3 separate regions of the Homo sapiens genome follow, and regions 2 and 3 are each linked to region 1. The links are contacts of gene promoters, found by promoter capture Hi-C in human tissues and cell types (Jung and others, 2019). All regions are on one chromosome and are shown on one strand. Each heading gives the region's core, a stretch centred on a gene start or on the middle of the fragment in contact. The rest is flanking DNA. Distances are from core to core; before and after follow the strand shown. Region 1 holds the start of SHISA6 (shisa family member 6). Region 2 overlaps SHISA6 (shisa family member 6). Region 3 overlaps SHISA6 (shisa family member 6).

Region 1 (4,902 bases), core at 1,024-3,523:
CAAGTGGAAGACAGGGTGGAGGCACCTCAGGGTGACAGAGCCTTATAAAAGGGTCTCCTTTTGGAATCACTCCAATTCCAGCACGCGAGTTTGAGGTACCCACCCTTTGTGGATTTGACTCAATAAAACCTTCCAGGGAGTATCATTTCTCTCAACACCCACAGTATCAAGCAGAAAAAAAAAATCAGCTCTTTTAACATGCCTAGAAATTTCTATCTGCCTTTCTCTCTCTTCAGCAAGGCAGGGGTGATTAATGTGCACAGCAGCGAGGAAGGCGGTTTTCAGGTGGTAAGAATAACAAGCAGGACGCAGAGAAGAGCTCAAGGTGAATGGGTCAGTGTGGGGGCCTGCAGGACTGACTGACAAGCAGTGGTCTGGGGGGTGCTCATGGTGACTAGGGCAGTGCCCACACCATGCAACAGAAATGGAGGCATCTCCCGGGGCAGGGTTTGTTCCCTGAGAGGACTCTTGCACCATGTCCAGCCATCCATCAACATGAGGGGACAGGAAGCCGAGCTAACTCTGCATCCTCTGGGTGTGTCATTCCTAGAGTTCTAAGGGGAGGCTGGGTTTCTGTCATCCCCTTGGCTTTGACTTCCCCAAGGGCTCACTGGGGGGCAAGATGGTGCGTCGGGGCAGCATTCAGCGTGCAACCAGGGACTGCCATAGTTTGAGCTCTTGGCGTAAGTTTTGGTAGGAGGCAGCTCCCACTGTCTTTCGAACGTAAGCAGTGAAAGATGCCCCACCAGGTTTAACACAGGCGAGTACTGTTAACTCAGAGTTCTGCCTACAGGGTTTCAAAGAACGAGTCCTCTAGTCTCAGCAGGAAAGATAAACATCCCACTCCGCAGGATGCAATGAGGAGACACCATCTGTGCTTGGTCAACATGGAATGGAGAAATCTTTATCCCTACTTCCGGCAGGAGGCATCCTTTCTATAAAACCCCAATTCCTAATGTACGAGAACATCTCAGTTGACCCTAAGCCACTTGGTACCGCTTTCAGTAAGGTTCCAACATTGGTCAGTTTCCTATATTGAAGATGACACTCTGATTTGACTCAAAAAACTAAATGCCATTAAGAACCTACACCAAAGTGCCCTCATGCCAGGAAAGCAGAACCCTGGATCCTCATCCACGATTACAGAATTTGTAACATTCTTACACTTGGAACTTCATGCACTCAACCAATTCTTACTCTGCCTTGTAAATCCCCCTACCACCAAAGCATGCATTCCCGGTTCTGAAGAAATGGAGGAGGGGGCACAAGAAGACCCTGATTTATTGCATGCAAAAGGAGCGATGGTGGAAATGACTAGAGGGCCTGGGGAGGTGTGATGATGCCGAGAGTGAAGAGGACAGGGGAAGCAAGCTGAGAGGGTGAGGCCGCGGGGAGACCGGGGCGCGCGGCACGCGGCGCTCTCACCTGTGGATGTTCATCTCCCGTGGAGGGCGGTGGGCCTTGTCGTAGGAGACCTTGGCGAAGACGCCGGCCACGATGACGAAGGCGATCACCCCGCAGGTGATGTAGACGGTGAAGTTGGTCTTGTCCTTCTCCGGGTCGTACTTGTTCTCGGGCCCCGGCGACACCACCTTGGTGCTGGGCGTCTGTACCCACACCGGGCTCTGGTAGTTGGTGCACTGGCGCTGGTCCAGCTTCTCGTGGCGCTTCTTGCAGCAGAAGCGGTAGTAGCAGGTACCGCAGCAGTACAGGTAGCCGCTCTCGCTGTTGTTACACTCGAACTCCTTGTCGTACTGGCCGCTCACGTCGTAGTAGCCCCAGCACGTCTCGTAGGTGACGGCCGCGCTGGCCGCCGCCGCCACAGCCGCCGCGGGCTGCCCCCGCCGGCTTCCCGCCTCCGGGATTCCGGGCGCCCGGGCGGTGCCGTTCAGCTCGCGGCCGCCCCGTGCCAGGGCGCCCCCGGCCCTCCGGCCCCCGACGGCAGCGCCGCCTGCACTCAGGGTCCGGTTGGCGGCGCGGCCGCGGGCTCCGTGGACGCTGGGCAGCAGGTCCAGGGACTCCAGCGAGAGCAGCAGCAGCAGCAGGAGGCGCCGCAGCGCCATGGCGGGGCCGGGCGGGAGGGCGCGGGGAGGCTTCCGCGGCAGGCCGCTCCCCCGGCGGGCCGGGCTCGGAGGACCCGCCGCGCGGGCCGGGCTGGAGGCGCTGAGCGGTCAGCGGCTCCGGGGCGATGGCGCCATCGAGGCGCGGGCGGCAGTGGCGGCGGCGGCGCGCGGTGCGCACGGACCGGCCCGGCGCGGGCTGCTCGGGCTCTCAGGCTGCGCGCCGGCTCCGCGCTCCCCCTGCGGGCTCGGCGCGCCTCCTGGGCAGCCCCATCCCCCGCCGGCGGTGACTGCGGCCCCGCGCGCGGCTCGGCTCAGGCAGGACCCGAAGCGCGGCTCCGGGCGGCGGCGGCGGCGGCGGCGGCGTGGTCCCGTCCGGGCGGGTCCTGCGGGACAAGACGGGGAGCCGGTCACGGGGTGGGGCGACTGGCGCTCCGGGAGCAGGAGGAGAACCGCGGGCAGGCGGGCGGGGAGGGTGCGCGCAGCCCTCGAGGAGAGAGACTCGGAGCCGGGAGGGGCGTAGAGCCCGCTCCCAAGACGGGGTCCCGCGGCCCTGCGCGCCTGGAACCGAGAGCGCACGGGCCGCCCCTCCAGGCGCAGCTCGGCCGCCCGGGTCCCCCAGCCGCCCGGCCCCGCAGCGCGCTCCCGCCGCAGGCTGGCTCCCTGGGACGGAGCCGGTTGAGGCTGGGGTCCGGCGGCGAGCCGGGAGAGCGCGCGGCGGCTGGACCTCACTCACTCACCATGCCCGGCTGCGACTGCAGAGGCGGCGGCGGCGGCGGCGGCGGCGGCGGCGGGGCGAGGCGGGAACGCAGCTGCCGGAGCGAGCGAGCGGAGAGCCGCCGGCTCGCCGCCTGCACTAGTGCCGGAACGTGTGCGAGAGTGAGCGAGGGAGACACACGCACTCACACACCCGCACACACGGGAGCGCCGCGAGGGGAGGGGGGACAGGGGAGGGGAGGGCAGCCGCTCTCCGCCACCCACGTTTGCACGCCCGGGCGCTCAGGGTGCGGGGCGGGGGGGACTCCTTTTCGCTTCTTCCGGATCGCAGCAGTTGAAGCTCCGCGTCACGAAAGCTCCGGACAGCAGTTATTCGACACGGCGAACCCGGCGGGCGAAGAGGGGGCCGGGAGCAGGGCGGAACGTCCGCTCTGCAGCCGGCCCGCGGCAGGGACTGACCTCCCCTGCCATTGCCTTCTCTAGCCTTCGCGACCAGTCCCCACCCTACCGGAGCCCGGGGCAGCGCGCTGCCTGAGCGGGAGTTGGGGTTTCTGCAAGCCTTTGCCTCTCCCTAGTGGTGATACTCGCAGCCAGGAGAAGAGGTCAAACCCATTGCTACAGGTTCCCAAACTGAGTCCAGGGGTCAAGTGGCTTGTCTGAGGCTGTTGGGCGACCCGTGAGCTGAGCCTACACTCTCTTCCCCTTGGTCACTCTTTCCCCAACCCCGTACCCACTACGCATAAAGGCGCTAGACAGCCCCAGGACTGGATGGCAACTCTTTGCTATACTTTTTTTTTTCCCCGCGGAGCCTCGAGGCCATTAGAAAGCTATCTGAACCTCTGAGACTCAGCTTTGTAACCCCTGTGTTGAAATCTCTGTGCTGCAGCTCCTATGGGAGGTGAGGAGGATGGGGGTGCAGGGCGGGGGTGCTTTCCGGGGTAGTTGCGTGTCTGGGTCTGTGGAAAGGAGGCCTGAGTCTAACTTTCACAGCTACGAGGCCATCCCAAAAGAGAATCATAGTACCATCCTTGGCGTGTGTCCTTGGAGGAGGTAGGGGGAACTGAGAACAAAAAGCGATGGCCAAGGCCAAGATTCTGCCTGCGTGACCAGCGTGCTTTGGTTGAAGGCAGGGAACTGAAGGCAGGGAACAGGCTGTCAGAGCGAGGGCGGTAGAGAATTTTCCCTGAGACTTTCTGTTCAGTCCCACTCATGTGTGACCTAAACAAGGGATCCCTATCCAGGAACAGAAGAGTTCCTCTTTTGGGAACCGTGGAATGGATATATTAGAGCTCGAACTCAGACTCCAAGACACAAGAGGGAGATCCTGATATTGACTAGGGGGTGGGGTGGGGGGCGGTGCACAGACTATCCCCGCAGCTCCCCACTTGCTACTGTCTCCATTCCCTCCCTCTTCCTCTGCACTTCCTCCCGTTCCCTTAACTTCTCAGTTGCCACCTTCTTCTTAAAGATTCTGTCCAACAAACATTTGTTTAGTGCCTACTCCCTGCCAGCAGAATGAATAAGAGAGTCCCTTTCCTCAAGGAGGGGGACCTTGTAGACCATTAGGGAGACAGATAAACAAATGATTTCCACATGGCAAGGTTACGTCTCATGATAAAGGCGGGCAGGGTGCTCTGAGAGCAGAAGACAGGCACCCAGCCTAGGCCTGCAAGGGGACAGATGGGGGTCAAATGTAGCTTTCTCAATGAGGTAGAGCAGAATCTTGAAGAATGGATTACGAGTTAATACAGCAAGCAAGAGGGGAAGGAGGCTCCCAGCAGAGGGAACATCCTTAGCAGAACCAGAAAGACAGGAAGTGGTTAAGGTGTGTGAGCAGGGATGCAAGCAGTTTAGCGTGAACCCTGAGGGAGTCTTCCAAATAAGGCTAGCAGGAGGGTATTGAATCCTCCCTTGCAAAGAACTTGAATTTATTCTACAATTGCTGGGGAACTGTTGGTGGGTTTTAATCAGGAGAAGACACTGTCAGTTTTACATGTTTGCTGGATCTCTGAGTCAAATGGAGTAGGGAACACTGGACTGGACGCAGGAAAAGCAATTTGGAAGCTGTCCTGATAATACAGGTAAAAAATGATGAAGGGATGCAGTAGATTACTGGGAGTTGATG
Region 2 (4,902 bases), core at 1,195-3,694, 60 kb before region 1:
ACACACAAGTGATCACATATATTCACACACAACCACACATACAGCCATACAACTGCACACAAAACCACACACACATGCTCACAACCAGACACAATCACACACACAACCACACTCAGAATCATGCACAAAACACCACACACAACCATACTCACGACCACACATAACCAATCACATACATTCACAACTATACACACAACCATACAACTGCACATAAAACCACACACATACTCACAACCACAATCACACAACCACACTCACAATCACACTGAATCTTACACACACACACACACAAAACCACACAAGCACACACACTCAAACATAACTACACTGGTAATCACACACAAAATCACACACTGATACGTACACACACACAGGTAATCACAATTGTGTATGTATCACACAATCATACAAGCACATAGGCTGCTCACTGCACTGCACTGCACTGGGTTGGGGGCGTCATCACACTACTCAGTCAGACGTCTTTCTTTCCCAGGAGCCCTCCACACCCCATGCTACAGCCCAGCTTGATGGGAAATGACAAAGCCATCAGCCTTCAATGAAACTCCAGCAGAACCTGCAGGAAGTCTGTTTCATCTAGAAACCTCTCATTTCAAACGCCCCCCTCCTCTCCACCTGGATGACTCTCTGCTTTTTCCCCCACCCCCATATTGTTTCTATAGCAACCTCGGTCCCTGGGTAGGGCTGTTGCTGAGAGCTGCAACCCTTCGGGTCTGCCCTCTTGGCCCTATATGTGAAATGGTTGGATCACAAATCATCTTCCTGCTAGGACCTAAGCAGGACTTCCAATGTTGGAAGCAAAAGACGGCTTGGACTGGTCCAGATGTTCCAGAGGCCACCAATGCACTCAGGCTATTTCCTCAACATCTGCTTCTCTCCCTCTCTCTCTTGCTTTTCAAAAGCTTAGGCCTGGCAAGGAAATGCTTGCCTGTTTCTGGCACGTTCATGTACCAGATGTACCATCCCCTTATTGCAATAAAATACAGGCAGATGCATAGGTGACCACGTAAAAAATGAGCTGAGAAAAGATCTGGATGTCCTGGGACCTGGATTCTGGACACAGGTCAGCCACTTTCTGGCTGCTGGACCTAAGAGCAAATTCCTCATGTGCAGAATAAGAACTTTATACTGGACAAACTTAGGAGGTTCCTTCCAGCATAACATTTTGTGGTCTATTTCACTCTCTACAACTCCTCAAATTTTGCTGTCAGGAAACTGAGCCTGACAAAATTTGAATTCTTTCAGAAAACTCCAACAGAGGCCTAAAGTTAAGCTCTAGGCCTGATATGGTTTGGCTGTGCCCCCACCCAAATCTCAATTTGAATTGTGTCTCCAAGAATTCCCATGTGTTGTGGGAGGGGCCCGGAGGGGAGGTAACTGAATCATGGGGGCCGGTCTTTCCTGTGCTATTCTCATAATAGTGAATAAGTCTCACAAGATCTGGTGGGTTTATCAGGGGTTTCCGTTTTTGCTTTTTCCTCATTTTCTCTTGCCGCCGCCATGTAAGAAGTGCCTTTTGCCTCCCACCATGATTCTGAGGCCTTCCCAGCCATGTGGAACTGTAAGTCCAACTGAACCTCTTTCTCTTCCCAGTCTCTGGTATGTCTTTATCAGCAGTATGAAAACGGACGAATACAAGGCTCCTAAAGCCAAAACCATGCAAAGGGAGAGGACCCCTACAGCTGGCAGTTTCCCCTTATGAGAAATCTCTCCTTGAAGGAGTCACACCTGCATTCCCATCCTTTCTACCGGCATGACATTGACTTGGGGATCCACAAGGACACACCTAGATTGCAGGAACGTTCATAGGAAATGCAGTAAGAGTGGGAAGTTTTCTGGAAGCTGCCTCTGGCTGGAGGAGGCAGGAAGGAGGGGAACGGCAAGGAGGTTGACTGAAGGACGCCTGGAAGAGAAAGACTCATTCATGCACGGTGTGACCAGAGTGGGGAAAGCCTTTATCACAGTTCTCTGGTCAGCACCTTTGCAAAGGAGTGAATTTAGGAAGATACTGACCCAAAGTGCTGCAATCATTTGGACTAGAGCTCATTAGGCCCTAGCAAAGCCCGGAGCCCCCAAAGAAGTGGAAAATTAGAAAGACAAATAAAGGTCAATGTACCATCCCCTTATTGCAATGGAATTATTTACCCACCTGGGGAATTTGATGCCTGGAGAATGTGTAATTAATGGTCCTGGGGGCTGCAACGCACCCAGGAGATAAACAGTGCAACTTCAACTTGAGGGTCCAATGCTCCCCACCCCAGTACCCACCACTACATCATAGGCTGTTAGGGAGGAAGAAAACTAGTGAGGGTTCCAGCTGCATTAAAGGGGTCTGCTACCGGGCTCAGCACAGGCAGAGAGGCTCTGACAGCTAGACGTGGAAGGCCCACAGTGAAGCTGAGCACGGGACTCCACGCAGCTGTACTGGAGAAGTTCTTTTGCTTCAGGCCTTGCAAAAAAACTCTTTAAACGTGTTTCCCTTGACTGGTATTAAAGGCTGTTTGTTTTCTCTTCTGTGTGAACATGTTGTGATTTTCTCTCCCCCCACCCCATACAGGGCTGAACAATTACAGTATGTTCTTGAAGCACAAGCAGATGGGGCGGGAGGGTGGGGCTGTGTTCCCCCATGTGCTCCACCTCCCTTCCCTACCACCCAAACTGAAATTATCAACTAGCATTTCACAAAGAGCCAGGTTCCTGGCCAGTATGCCGGGGAATTGAAATAAGAAGCCTGTTTTTCCTAGAGCCATCTCTTATGAAGGGGTAATATTTAAACCCACAGTCACTGAATTACAAAAAAAAAAAAAAAGAAAAAGAAAAAAAAGTCCTAAACTGGCAAAAAGGGAATTCTCTCCCAAGAAGGGCACACAGGCTTGCCACAACTCACTCTCTAAAAGCTCACTGGTGCCACGGGTGTCTTGGATGTGACACCCAGATGAAAACTTAGAGATCAAAACTGAAAATGGCCCACAGGCTTCATCGTGCCTGACAGTTCGGGTCAACTGACAGGGCTGCCTGGAAAACAGTGTTGAGAAGGATTCTAAGATGCACTCGGATTCTGAAGGAAAGAGGGCTGCAGTCAGTTGCCAGTGCTCCATGGACACGAAGAGAAGGGCAGTGGCTTGCATGCCCCATGTTTGCCCATCCTAAGTCAGTACGGCACAGTGGTGCCCAGGGCCCAGGTCTACACTGGTTGGGAACTCATGCTTCGGGTATTGTGGTAAACAGAAAAATGCCTCCCAAAGATATCCACATCCCAGTCCTTAAACCTGTGAAGGTGTTGCCTTTCTTTTTTTCTTTTTTCTTGTTTTTCTTTTTTTTTTTTTTTTGTTTTAAGATGGAGTCTTGCTCTGTCGCACAAGCTGGAGTGCAGTGGCGTGATCTCAGCTCACTGCAACCTCCACCTCCCAGGTTCAAGCGATTCTCCTGCCTCAGCCTCCCAAGTAGCTGGGACTACAGGCACATGCCACCACGCCCAGCTAATATTTTGTATTTTTAGTAGAGATAGGGTTTCACTGTGTTAGCCAGGATGGTCTTGATCTCCTTACCTCGTGATCTGCCCACCTCAGCCTCCCAAAGTGCTGAGATTACAGACGTGAGCCACCGCACCTGACCTGAAGGTGTTGCTTTTCATGGCAAAAGGAACCTTGCAAGTGGGATCAAGTTAAGGTTCTTGAGATGAGGAGACCACCCTGGATTGTGTGGGTAGGCCCACACGGGATCCTTATAAGTGGACACAGGTTGGTCAGAGTCAGAGAGAGAAGGTGATGGGATGGGGAAAACAGAGATTGGAGTGATGCACTTTGAAGATGCAGGAAAGGACCGTAAGCCAATGAATGCATATGGCCTCTAGAAGCTGGAACAGGCAAGGAAATCGATTCTCCCCTAGAGCCTCCAGAAGGAACCAGCCCTAACATATCTTGACTTCAGCCCAGTGAAAGCTATTTTGGACTTCTGGCCCAGAAATGTAAAAGAATAAATGTGTGTTGTTTTAATCACAGGGAATAAATTTGTGTTGTTTAAATCTGCGGTAATTTGTTTTAGCAGTTAATAGGAAATGAATACAGCATGTTACTTATTCTCTGTGTCTCAGTTCCTGCATTGAAAAAAAAAACACCAGAAATAGTAATATCTACCTCTGATGGAGCTTTCAGGACAATTAAATGTAATATAATGTATGTAAATCACTTAGAATAGCATCTGGCACCCAGTAATTCTCAATAAATATTAGCTATGATTATTCCGATCCAACTGCTTTATTTTATGGGGGAGAACATTAAAATCCAGACAGAGAATAGAATGTACTAGAGGTCACAATGACACAATGAAGAAATGTGGTCCATCCTAATGCTTTATTACTGAAGAGTAGCTCTTTTATTTGTGAAAGGGACATGGGAGCTACAGAAGATTCAACCATTCTTGGTCATGGAAGGAAAGGGGATGTATTTTCGCCATGACTTTTAGTGGCAAAAACTGCAGTTACTTTTGCATCAACCTAATAGACTAGACCCAAAGCACATTCAGCAGCTGACTCTGATTTTCTACCATCCCTGAACAAATCTACCTCTAACATCAGTCCACCCTCAGAGAGCCACCTTGAGTAGCTGCAAAAGCTAGGCTCCTCACTCTCCCTTTAACCCAGCGATGAGGTCTGCCTCCTTGAGCTAGCTGCTGACAGTGAACTTGGAACATGGTTTGGCCACTGGGAGTCATTTGTTAGTGTTCTTGGTTCTCACTGTGCCTTCCCTCAGCCATCCACTCCAGACTCCTATGTTGGGTCTTACGTTACCAGAATCTGTACTGCTTTCAGAATCATCATGGCAAACACCCCACTGCAACACTGCCTAGCACATTCCCCAGCTGCCATGGCACTGACCCCACTGC
Region 3 (4,902 bases), core at 1,113-3,612, 42 kb before region 1:
GCATAGTCTGTACAAGCCCAGGGGCAAAAAGGGAAATTGATTCCTGTCCCATCAGTCCCTCGCTCAAAGTAAGCTCTCATTAAATGCATATTGGATCAAACTTGATTAATTCCACAAAGGCCTCCAAACTGTCAGTAGGATTCATTTTTTAAAAGGTGTCAAAATCATTATTTCAAACAATAAAATGACACCCCTTCTCCCCTTTTTAAGACAAAACTTTTCCCAACTGCAAGGCAAGATTTGCTCCTCTCAAGGATTGAGGGGTGGTGGGATATGTCCCCCAGATGTATCATTTGCAACAAGCTGAAGGGAAGAAAGCAAACGGCAGCAACTCCTGCAAAAATCATGCAACACCTCCAAGTCTCAGAATGAGGAATCCATCCCTGTCTGTCTGACACACCAAATGGGATGTGCAAACCTAATCCCAACTCAGACTTCTAACAACTCATTTGAAGTTCCTCAGATCAAACTGGAATAAGCAGACACCCTAACTGCAGAGCCTCATCCAGGAAGACTTACTTCTGGGGTGCATGTGTGTATAGAAGCACATATATCAATTAAACCTTGGAGTCAGTGAATATTTTCCAGGGTTTTGCCTTTGATGATTTCATATCAGCCAAAAGACACATGTGTTAGCAAGATGGCCCGTGTTTAGCATCCTGAGCTGAGTAGCAGGCCACAGGGCCAGCTGGAGAGGGCTCAGTTAAGAAACCAAAGAATTGAGTCATCCTGGGGAAACAGATCAACTGTGGTTAGAAGAAGTAGAGGTGGACAGAGGAATGGAGCCCTGGACAAGGAGGATCTGGGTTGAACATATCACTAAATTGCTTTGGTCCCAGCCATAAGAACTGTATCTCATGACTGCTGCAAAGTTTAAGTAGGATTCATGCCAGTGAAAATATAAAGTGCTATAGAAGTCTAATACAGCATCAATAGAATCATTAAAAAACAGGATGAATTCCAAGGGACATCTGAATTATTTTATTATAGAGAACTTTGTTCAAATGAGCACATAACCAGAAGCCATTCCTCAATGAGGAACTCCTATTTGAACCCATACAGAGAGAGAAGAAAATGCACTAAAAACATGGGGCAGACACTGTGAATTACCTACCTAGTAGTCAATTTGTCTCCCTCCTTCCCTGCCAATAAATTCCACATTATTTGGGGCAGCAATATATGTGCAGCTAAATGAGGGTCACTGACACTGCCCTTCTCCATTCCTGTTGCCTGGAATGTAGATAAAAAGCCTGGAGCTCGGGCAGCCATGTTGCAATCATGAGGTAACAAGCATAAAGATGGAAGCCAACCCTGTAAGGATGATGGAAGAGAAGATGGAAAACATCTGGTTCTCTGAAGGTGTTGCTGAGCAACTAAACCAACTCCAGAAATTGCCTACTTTGGGACTTTTGACTAGGTGAGAAAATCAACCTTTATTTGGTTAAGCCAAATAAAGTCTTCAGTTTTCTGTTACTTGAAGTTGAACATAATCCCAAATGATATGAATCATTTCCTTACTTTTTACTAGATGAGGTAGGGGGAGGATTGTGCATGCCTACGTGTTTGTACAAGTGCATGTAAATGTGTGTATGTCTGTGTGTGTGGTTTTGAGGTAGTAGTATTAGAGTCAGTTTTCTAATGGAGGCTTTCCTGTGAAGTGTAAGAATTTCCAAACAAGGAAAACTTAGGAGAACTAAAAAGGAACTGGGGAACAACAACCTACCAAAAAAACTATCAAGTCTGAAGCGCAAAGCACACAAAAAGCTTCAGCTAAACAATTCTATAGATTATTTTCCAATATGCCTCCTTAATAGCAATAGAAGCAATATAAGAGATAAGTTTCTCCACAGCACAGAACAGAACTGGAATTTTCCCATTAGTCACTAAAGTTTTCTGCTCTTGAAATCCAAAACTGCACCTTACTTTCATTATATGCTTCTTCCCTGTTCCAACAATAAAGGTGGCTGGCATCTGCAACGTTACATGACATCTATGCATTAGAAAATATTTACTGAGTTCATATGGCATGGTGCTAGGGTTATATATAAGCTTTGTGCAGTATCTGCTGACACCACTTTAATGTAATTGGCTTATTTTCCTTAATTCAGATTCAAAAGAACAGAAAAATTAGCACGTGCATGCATTTATTCAACATGAGGCTTTAGACCCACTTAATTTTAATTCTGTAGTAGACAAGTGGCTGTGCTTTAATAGAGGCAGGATGGAGAAATAGAAAGAAAATCAGACCTTGAATCAGAAAACTTGAGTTGAAGTTTTGGTTTTAATATCCACTGGTGTGCAATGGTAGACAAATTGCTTAAACCTCCTGAATCTCCTTACAGAATCACCTATTAAATGGAAACAATTACTTCTTCTTCAATAGATTCATATGATGATTAACTGATACATATATACATTTACAAACTATGTACATATATAGTTGCTTTCAAAGAGTGCTATATAAATGCAATTTATTGCATATTTTGTCTAAAAGAGCAGTAAGTATCAGTTAATATTCATGTGGGCACACTTAATAGAGTTGAATCCTGCGAAGTTAAGAGATTATGACTTCACTTATCAAATGAAAAACTTGAAGATTGGGTTGGGACAATATCTAGGTCTGGTGCTCCAAATTCAATGATCTTTACACTTCGCTAGATCAATGAAACTATCCTGGAGCAAATCATATACAAACAGCAGGACTGTTTTTTAATGTAAACCTATTTTGAGCTCTCCACTCTATAAACCTGAATGTGGAATGTGGTTTTGGGGAAAATTGGAGTGAATGATTCCATCTAAATCCCAGTTTGCAGGCTCAAGTCTAAGTGAGGGCTCCTCCTCCCACTTGCTGCTTGGCAGCTGCCCCTCTGGGTTGGGGCTGGACAGATGCTTATTCATTTGTCTCTCCGGGTTACAATGGTGAATATGCAGTGTGATAGCAGATGGAATACCATGTATCTGGATGAAGCTGGAAACCAGCATTCTCAGCAAACTATCACAAGGACAGAAAACCAAATACCGCATGTTCTCACTCATAGGTGGGAATTGAACAATGAGAACACTTGAACACAGGGCTGGGAACACCACACACTGGGGCCTGTCGGCAGGTGGGGGACTGGGGGAGGGATAGCATTAGGAGAAATACCTAATGTAAATGATGAGTTGATGGGTGCAGCAAACCAACATGGCACATGTATACCTATATATCAAACCTGCATGTTGTGCACAGGTACCCCAGAACTTAAAGTATTAAAAAAAAAAAAGAAGAAATACCACGTATCTAGTCCAAATCCTTTGCTCTCTTGCCCCTTCCCTACCTTCTATGGAGAAAGAACTTTCGATCTTGTTGAATCGCCTCTAGAACTCTACTCTGATGTTAAAAATCTGGGCAACAAGTGAATAAGAGAACTATGCAGAGCAAGAGTGTCTGCTGATTTACATAGTAAAGAGAGGTGGTAACACCTGCAGACGCACTTAGGTTAAGTTTGGGGACCTCTTTTGAAAAAGGAGTATTTGGGGAAGCAGCTTCTGTGGCTATGAAAGGCATTGAGAGTGAGGAAGATGAGGAAAGGTTTTGTAAAGATAATTTGGCCTATGCCACAAATGTATCATAGATCCCTTTGGATTTTCTTCCAAGAGACCAAGCAAAGATTGAAATTGCTCTTAAAAGAGAAAAAAAAACTTTTATGCATTTGACCATTGCTTACTTAAATGTCACATCAACGCAAGATAGCCAGCTGAAGTCACTCTTGCTTTGTGTGAGTTATATTTTGAGAATGTTCTAGGATCAGTGATGTTTTCAAGTACTTTTTAGTCATGCTTGGTTGTTCCTGAAAGAAACAGATACCCTGAATAGCTTTACACTTATTTTAAAAATTGAACTTGTAGTTTAAAATCTTCCTACAAAAAATAAACAAAAATTCTAGGCATTGATGCCTTCACTGGTAAAGTTCTATAAAAATTCTTCCACAAAATTGAGAGAAAAAAACATTTTTCGGCATATTTTATGAGGTCAGCATTACTCTGATACCAAACCAAAATGACAAGAAAACAGAACTATGGACCAATATGCTTTATGAACATAGACACAAAAAGTTCTTAACAAAATTTTAGCAAATAAAATATAATAATATATAAAAATGGTAAGATATTATGACCAAGTAAGATTTATCTTTGGAATGCAAGGTTAGTTTAACATTTGAAAACCAATCAATGTAATTTTCCATGTTAACAGGCTAAAAGGAAAAACTGTATCATCATCTCAACAGATACAAAAGATGCACTTGACCCAATCCAATATCCACTCCTCATAAAAACTCTCCACAAACTAGCTATTAATGAAAACTCTTCCTATTTGATAAAGGGCATCTCCAAAATACATAGAACTAACATCACAATGCAAAAGACTGCTTTCCCCCTAAGATTAGAAAATAAGTTGTCACCACTTTGACTGTATGTTATACATGATATATTATATACATCCTTGCTGGAGCAATAAGGCAAGAAAAAGAAAAAAAGGCATCTAAATAATAAGGGAAGAAGTAAAACTAGCTTTACTTGCAGATGGTATAATTGTTTGTAAAAATTCTAAAAATCTATGAAAAAGCTAATAAAACTGATAGGACTATGCAAGTTTGTAGGACAAGGTGTTTATATAAAAAGCAATTGTATTTTTATATACCACCAATAAACAATCAGAAATTGAAATGCTCAGTTCTTTAAGAAGGTGATTATGAATGCGAATGTAAACACCACTATCATGATGTTGTCTCAAGAATTCCCTTTGAACAAATCCTGCCATTCAAGGCCTCCATTTCTATTTCCAGCCCTCTTCTCTAACTTGCTCTCATGCCATTCAACCCATTGAGCACGCTGCTTCAAAAGGGGAGATCTATTCCCTCT

The links. Contacts are between HindIII fragments. The study calls those that stand out against the background at their distance.
Region 2: a contact is called between a fragment that was not itself captured here and the fragment with the promoter of SHISA6 in region 1, in 3 of the 25 tissues and cell types used here (dorsolateral prefrontal cortex, lymphoblastoid cells and thymus).
Region 3: a fragment that was not itself captured here is called in contact with the fragment with the promoter of SHISA6 in region 1 in 5 of the 25 tissues and cell types used here (dorsolateral prefrontal cortex, heart right ventricle, hippocampus and 2 more).

Annotation. Positions count from the first base shown.
Region 1 is chr17:11,238,584-11,243,485 of GRCh38, reverse strand. It overlaps SHISA6 (shisa family member 6), which reads right to left and starts at 2,273. Exons shown (of 6, transcript NM_207386.4): 1 at 1,426-2,273. The coding sequence starts at 2,063. The HindIII fragment of the contact is 17,378 bases long and covers 1-4,902 here.
Region 2 is chr17:11,298,595-11,303,496 of GRCh38, reverse strand. All of the region lies in intron 2 of SHISA6 (shisa family member 6), which reads right to left. Among named protein-coding and RNA genes, the nearest start is that of SHISA6, 60 kb to the right of the region's middle. The HindIII fragment of the contact is 4,566 bases long and covers 162-4,727 here.
Region 3 is chr17:11,280,763-11,285,664 of GRCh38, reverse strand. All of the region lies in intron 2 of SHISA6 (shisa family member 6), which reads right to left. Among named protein-coding and RNA genes, the nearest start is that of SHISA6, 42 kb to the right of the region's middle. The HindIII fragment of the contact is 3,054 bases long and covers 836-3,889 here.